Regions from separate parts of the Homo sapiens genome. Here region 1 is linked to region 2. Evidence: promoter capture Hi-C in 16 types of primary human blood cells and fetal thymus (Javierre and others, 2016). All regions are on one chromosome and are shown on one strand. Each heading gives the region's core, a stretch centred on a gene start or on the middle of the fragment in contact. The rest is flanking DNA. Distances are from core to core; before and after follow the strand shown. Region 1 holds the start of ATP2B1 (ATPase plasma membrane Ca2+ transporting 1). Region 2 overlaps LOC105369892 (a long non-coding RNA gene).

Region 1 (3,888 bases), core at 118-2,617, 550 kb after region 2:
CCGGTGTTTGCGGACCCGACCGGCAGGAACAGAGATGGAGTGTCCCGCGCCCGCATGGGGAGTGAGCTCTCTTCCCCAAAGAGGGAGCGAGCCGAGAAGCACTTTTTCCTCCGGTGCGTGCGTCACGGCCCGGGACAGGCGTCGAGTCCGGTTTGGAGTGGGGGCAGAGACGCGGCGAGGAGCCGCTCAAATGTCCGCTGACTGGGGGTTCGCCTTAATCTGTCCTCGCCAGGAGCGCTCGCCCTCGCCCTCCCGCTGGCTCGCTCCTGGGCCCTGGAGGGGCATGGGCCCGGGGGCGGTTCGGGAGGGGCCCCAGGTGAAGGGCGCCCGCACTTCTCCTGCGGCAATCATCGCTCTCCTGCCTCCACACGTCGCGGCAGCGGCCCGGCCCCGCGCCGAAACAGCAGCTGTGACTGACGGAGTCACCTCCCCGCGCGCCTGGCCACCCCCTCCTCCCCCGCCGCTCCCTCCTGCACCAACACGTCATGGAAACACGGACGTCAGAGCCTCTCAGCCAATCGCAGGCTGCGGCAGGAGGGAAGGGGCGCGCTGGAGGGGGCGGGGGCAGCGGCAAGCCAAGGCGCTCAGGGGAAGGAAGAAAGGGAGGGGCGTGCGGAGGCGCAAGTCCCCACCTCCGCCCCTCACTCCGGCCACCCTTTCCCGACCGCGCGGCAAGTTCTAATCGCCAGGCGCGCGCTCGCCAGCCGAGGGCGCGCTCGCCGGGTCCTCCCCTTAAACGCCCTCCCAGTGCCGCTCAGCTCCCAGTCCCGGTCCGAGCCGCGGTTCCTCCGCGCGCGCGCGCGCGCACTCGCCCGCCCCCAGGCTCCCCGCGGATCGCGTCACGTGACCGCGCTCAGCCAAGGCGGCAGCGGCGGCGGCGCGAGCTTCGGCGGCGGTGGCGGCTGTGGCAGCGGGAGCAGCTGCGCCGCCAGCGTGGAGCGGGAGGCGTGTGGGTGTGGAGAAAAGGGAGCGCCAGACCGGAACGGGTGAGCGTTCTCCTCCCCCTGCCTACCCCGGCAATCTTGCAGGCCACCCGGTGCAGACGGGGTCCCTGCCCGGAGCTGCGCGCAGCCCCCTCGTGCTCGGCCGTCCGCTCTCCGGTGCCCGCGGGCCCCGCCCCGAGTGGGGCGGGCTGCGGCGCTCACGGAGGTGGCTGCACCCCGCCCGCGGCTGCTGTTGCGGACGGCGGCGTGAGGCCGGCTGAGCTGCCCGTGCCGAGCGAGCGCGGCGCGCCCTGTGTGCCGCTCTGCGGAGCCGAGGAGGCGGGTCCTGCGGGGACGCGGGCGGCCACTCGGTGGCTGCCGGGCTCTGGGCGGGGACGGCCGGGCGCCGCCTCCTCCTCCTTCGCTGCCGCCGCCGCCTCCTCGCAGTGCAGCGTGAGTAGGGAGCCCCGGCTGGTGGACGCCGAGCCTCTCGGCTCCTTGGCCGCCCCATCCCCGAGGTGCAGCTGCACCTCCGCGTGGCGCCCCGAGCCCTGCGAGCCGGCTGCGGACGCGCTGAGGACGGAGCCCCCATCCTCTGCGTTTCCCGCTGCCCCTTAACGCCCCGCGACCCTCCCGCAGCCTGCCTTTCCTTCCCCCTCGGAAAATGGTTCCCACTGCCGGGCGAGGTGAGTGGCGGCCGCCGCCCGCCCGCGGCCGGGGGCGGCGGGGCAGGTCACCTGCGGGGGAGGCCAGGCGGAGCACGGAGGTCGGGCGTCGCGGCGGGGATCCTGATAGCTGGGTGCGCAGCGGGTTGCGCCGGATTCGGGAGAAGCTGACGGGGGCGGTCGGGGCCCCTCGCAGGTTGCCTCTTGCCGGGAGATTGTGAAGGTGAGCGGGCTTCTCGCCGTGCACCTCAGCGCCGGGTCAGTCTGGGAGTCGCTGCTCCGGGCCCGAGGGATGGGGCTTGTTGGGGCTTCTGGTCTACACCCGCAGGTCTTCGGCTTCACGAAGCCGCCTCGGCCGCGCCACAGCCCATCCCGCCACCGGTCGCCCCCGCCACGGCGCGTGGTGACCTTGAGGGCACCGTGCCCGGCACTCCCTCTCCCCGCGCCCCGGGAGGGTCACCCCTCTAATCCTTGGCCTCGGCCCCCCAGACGCACTGCGGGAGGGGAGCGGGGGCCCCTGGTCGGCCCCTGGCCCTGGTGGTTGATTGTTGGCGTGTCAGGACGGTGATTCCTCGGGAGTTGGAGAGCCGCCTGGTCTTTCTCCTCACGCCTTCCGTCTGGCCCCCCAGGATGTTCACAGTTGTTTCCGATTCGTGTTTATTCACTTAGTTTAAGAGAAAAAAGCCTGCGCCCCCACCTCCCTTTTTGAGGAAGGAGTCTGTAGGAGGACCGCGTTCCAGTGGCAGGGGTGTGGGGTGGGGGCTGTGCTCTCTTTATCCCATCCTGCGGGAGAATCCTGTGGCTAAGCTGGTTAGCGACCCCTGGTTCTGCGCCGCGGTCACCAGCCAGGTTGGTCTCTGTGCGCATTTCATTCACCAGTTTTCTGCGGGACTCGCAGCGCTGGGAGTGCTCGCACCCTGTGCGCTGCTTGGCTCGGAGGGGAGGGCAGGGCGTCCGGGTGGGTTAAAGGGGTCTGCAGGTACTTGGAGGGCTCGACCCTCCTCGACAGGCTGATATTTACCTTTTCTTTGGGTTAGAGCGCTGCAGACAGCCACCTTTCGCTTCTGTGCCCGCTACTTTTCTTGGTTTATTAATAATCTAATGGCTTCTGTTGGTATCGATTGCTGTTCGTGATAAATTAGCTACATAGATTTTTTTCATACGTGTGTAGGTATATGCATATATCTGAACTTGTCTGCCTGTCAACATGGAAGCCTTTGTTGTGTTTAACCTCCCCCACCTGAGGACAGTCTTATTTTAAAATAAGGCTTTTGTTCAGCGTGGGTGTATTTTATAATAAGAAGTACTTGTAAGGGCCTGGTTTGTATGAGGCTCTCATCTGGCAGAGGGTGTGTAACCCTTTGGATGGTGGCCCACGTGAGTGAATGGAGGGCCTTCACCACTTGCCCCGATGCCAGCCTTCCCGAGACTCCCTGTCCTTGTGTGTGGCAGGGGTGGATTGGGGGAATTAAGAGGGATTGGAGGAGAATCTGCTTTTTGTACTTGTGCGTTTCATTTGGGTCCTCCTCCTCCCCTCTCTTTTTCTTTATCCTCCTGGTGAGTTCAAATTTGAAGTAAATAGAAACATTTTTTTTTTAATTGGGAACCTTTGATAGCTAGTATATGAAATGGGCTTATTTAGCTATGATTTCAGGAGGACGTTTTAGTTTTTACCTTGCTTTAGATAAGACAGCTAAATTGCTGTAATTAAGGGTGGATCTCTGTCCTGATTTTGGCTTGGGTGTAACTGCAAAGATCTTTGAAAAGTAACTGTTAATTTCCTACCATATAGTCTGCAAAAGTGAGTCACATTCGGGTGAGTTGAGGACAGAGCGCCACCTTTAATTTAAAATTTCGTGATTTTCTTTTATTAAAATGGTGAAAATTCGGGGTACGCCTTCTTGATTTTTATCGCAGCTGTCATTATTGGCATCCCCATTTTGACGTGTAAGGGGGAATTGTCTTCATTTTTCTGTATTCTCTCATTTCTCTTTTGAGAGAAATTTCTGCAATTGTATGGGAAATCTTTTTTTTATTGAAGCTTGGGATTTTAGCATTCTGAGATGAGATGAGAAACTAGTTTTGATTTGTGTTTATAATAATATTGATGGTCTGGATATTCTTGGTAAAAGAAGGAAAGTAATAGCTGCTTTTAATAGGTGGTTTGAACTAGCCATTGCCACCAAATAAAGGTACCTACCAGTATGACAGTGGCTTTACAATTTTTTTTTTTTTTTTAGCTGTAGGCCTATTAACAGATTCTAAAATAAACACGCAGGATCAGATATAGTAATTCTTTT
Region 2 (3,556 bases), core at 592-3,091:
CAGGAAGCCTAATCCGAAAAGCATAAGCAATCCCATTGGACCAGTGGGAATCTACGAGTTTAGAATCTGAAGAGCTTGGTTTTAGCAGAATTTGAATGGATTTGGCATGTCTCACTTTTAGACTGAAACAAAGTGAATGAATCAAGATAGGAATTCTTAGACTTTCCTCTATTTGTATTTTTGACCAGAAAACCTATTATTAGTATTATTTTAAAAAGTTTTTGTAGATTTTCATCATCCTTATTATTTGGAATTTTAGAAAAATCTATTTCCTTGTATGTGTGCAGCTAAACCCTTAACAACCCCCAATAGGGTTCTTTCTTCCAGAAAATACAGCGGTGGAGATGATGAAAACCCAGGCTGGGTCTCAGGCAGTGGCAAACAGGAATTAGAGTAAACAATCTTCAGCTTCATGGAAGCAAAGAAAAGATAAAGGAGTCAGTCTAGGATGAAGGTAGAGCCCAGTAGAAAGTCTTTGCCTGCCTTATAACAGTTTATTCAAAAGAGGTGGCACATGTAATTGTTACTGGGATTTCTACTTCTTTATATAAAATCATCCATAACTTCTCCAAGCCATAGTGAGTTTTTAAAGTAGAGAAGAGTAGGTCAGGGAGTAGATCTGCTCCCATTACAAACTTTAGTCCCTATCACAGACATTCTAAGCATATTTTTTACTCCAGGATCTAAGTCACTGGTTAAAATGTTCACTGCCCAAGAAGCAATCTCAATGGAATGCCATTTGCTGTATCTCCCCAGGTTGACACTGAACCACAGATAATGTTTGTCAAAATGAGACACTTCAACCAGCTGTCTCTTCTCATAGCACATGTGCTCACAGTTGTCAGTGAAGAATTAAGACTGTAACAGCAGGGACAGTAAGGATTAATCTTGACAGTTTAGTAAAAGGAATGCACAGTTTAGCTTTGTCCAAGTCAGGATGCCTTCCTATTTTAGAAAGAGGATGATTTCAGTTAATAAAATTTAATTTGAAAAGAGTTGTGGATAAAAGAACTATAGAAGATATCTTGAGTGACAGCACACCAGGAAAACATTCAGAATTCTTGGTGACTCCTTTTCAATCAGAACGCCCAGGATTGCAATAAAGTTTTTGAGGATAAACATAGGACTAGTGGAAGAAAAAATAATGCTTGGTAAAATAAAAAGTCACATAAACTTTTTGTCAGGGTTCAAAAGAACATCTGACAGATGCAATACTTCACTATGTAACTCCATCTCTTGAAAAAGGAATATTAAGAAGGAAGAAGACAAATACTTTCTTTTACAGTCACAGTGAAATTATGCTTAAAATGACTGTTGGGATTTTCTACAAATAGAATGTTAGAATGTTTGCTTTTCCAGCTTCCTAGAAATATGGTTCTGTGATTGGAACAGATGTGCTGTTTAGCTCTTTCTCCTTGACCTTTTCACAAGTCTCGTTATTCCAATCAGGTAATGTACAGCTGTTAAAATAAATCTGCCCTCCAGGTTTAGGGAGGATGATGAGGCCTTGCACACTGAAGCTTCTGACTTTGTTTCTGGCATCATGGAACAGAGGTTATAAACTCAGTAATCCAGAGAATATGATAAACACACCCTAATAATCTTGAAAAAAACCAATCCAACTCCATTATTTCCATAAGGAGTGAGATCACCCTGAGAAGGGTGCTGTGGTTAGATGGGACATGAGCACATTAAATCTTCAGATTCCATGCAGCAAGCAGATCTGTATTTTGGGATTGATATCCAACTTTTCTGCCCAAGTGAGGCTTGTACACAGCTCCCATTATTTTTATTATGTTTTTGGTGATCTGCACAACTCTTAAACAATGAAGAAAGAAAATATGAGTGAAGAGACACATAAGTCTCTGGTTCTCAGGTCAAAGGCTCAGCAAGCAGCTGTTCAACCCCAAGGGCCCTGCAGAGATTCCCAGCAGTCGTCCTGAGGATGAGGCTCTAGGCTTGCATATTTGTCAGGGCACTTACATCCTGGACAGCACTCCAGTGCAAAATTGACCAAAAAATCAGGTAAGGCAGGCACTCACACAGCCCATCTGGTAAAGCATCCACCCTAGAGTCTGATGTGTCTCTAGACCTGGGTATCTCCACCCCATGAAGTGTACCTGACAATTCCCCACGGACTGGAAAGAGAGAATGAAGCTTATGTTTATATTTTTTAATTTTTATTTATTTATTTATTTATTTTGAGATGGAGTCTTGCTCTGTCGCCCAGGCTGGAGTGCAGTGGCGAGATCTGAGCTCACTGCAAGTTCCGCCTCCCAGGTTCACGCCATTCTCCTGCCTCAGCCTCCCAAGTAGCTGGGACTACAGGCGCCCGCCACCATGCCCGGCTAATTTTTTTTATTTTTAGTAGAGACGGGGTTTCACCATGTTAGCCAGGATGATCTCAATCTCCTGACTTCATGATCCTCCCGCCTCAGCCTCCCAAATATGTTTATATTTCATCACATTATTTTAAATCAATATTTTACGTGTGTTTGAAAATGTGCATAATACACTGGAACACTAGATTGCATATCAAATAATAAGTAAATATACATATAGGGAAGAATGCTTAATTTTTTATTGGTAAGAAGACATGCAATCTAAAAAGTTTGGACACAGCTGTTCTAGATTGCCCCCTTTCCCCAGCCAAATGTTCATTAAAAAGGCAAGGCCTCAGAAAGACATGACTGCCATAACAGCCCTCTAAATGTCAGCAAACCTGCTGATTGAGGACAGAGATTAGACTAAGGTTACCATAGGGCAGAGGGAAGGAAAAAGGAAGGAAGGGAGAAATGGGAAATGGAAGTCCCTTTCTTCAGATGACATCTTTCTCCAATAATAAACCTTTAAACCAGAGCCCAAACTATCCACCTTCCTCATCCTCGACTCTCTGACATACCCCACCTAATTTGGTGTGAACCACGGTAACTCTCATCTAATATCTGTTAAACCCAGGAACAAGATCCAGGGTAAAGGGTGCCATCTTGGGAGGGTGTGTGTAGTGAGTCAAAGAGACCAAATATACTCAGGAAAATGCAATGGCAAGATTCAGGAACATGCAGCTGCAGAGTGTGGTCCTCAGGTAGTTTGTCTGAAAGGTGTCCATGAGCAGAGGACACTGACCTCAAAATTGAAAAACAAGGCCAGGGCCAGGCATGGTGGCTCACACCTGTAATCCCAGCACTTTGGGGCAGATCACCTGACGTCAGGAGTTCAAGACCAGCTTGGCCAACATGGTGAAACCCTGTCTCTACAAAAAATACAAAAATTAGCCGGGTGTGATGGTGGATGCCTGTAATCCCAGCTACTCGGGAAGCTGAGGCAGGAGAATTACTTGAACCTGGGTGGCAGAGGTTGCAGTGAGCCGAGATGCTGCCATTGCACTCCAGCCTGGGCAACAGAGTGAGACTCTGTCACAAAAAAAAAAAAAAAAAAAAAAAAGGAAATAAAGAAAAACAAGGCCAGGCACAGTGGCTCACACCTGTAATCCCAACACTTTGGGAAGCTAAGGTGTGTGGATCTCTTGACCTCAGGAGTTCAAGACCAGCCTTGG

What was found. The method cuts DNA at HindIII sites, captures the fragments that hold promoters and counts their contacts. A CHiCAGO score of 5 or more calls a contact.
Region 1: the fragment with the promoter of ATP2B1 here is called in contact with a fragment that was not itself captured in region 2 in 2 of 17 cell types (naive B cells and total B cells); the score reaches 10.3 in naive B cells.

The regions. Positions count from the first base shown.
Region 1 is chr12:89,706,317-89,710,204 of GRCh38, reverse strand. ATP2B1 (ATPase plasma membrane Ca2+ transporting 1) reads left to right here and starts at 1,367. Exons shown (of 21, transcript NM_001366521.1): 1 at 1,367-1,609. ATP2B1-AS1 (ATP2B1 antisense RNA 1) reads right to left here and starts at 1,250. Exons shown (of 1, transcript NR_028138.1): 1 at 1-1,250. RefSeq lists silencers at 129-678, 699-1,718, 1,869-2,098 and enhancers at 2,289-2,388, 2,399-2,488. The HindIII fragment of the contact is 7,681 bases long and covers 1-3,631 here.
Region 2 is chr12:90,258,697-90,262,252 of GRCh38, reverse strand. The region is part of intron 2 of LOC105369892 (a long non-coding RNA gene); the gene reads right to left. Among named protein-coding and RNA genes, the nearest start is that of LINC02392, 33 kb to the left of the region's middle. The HindIII fragment of the contact is 637 bases long and covers 1,523-2,159 here.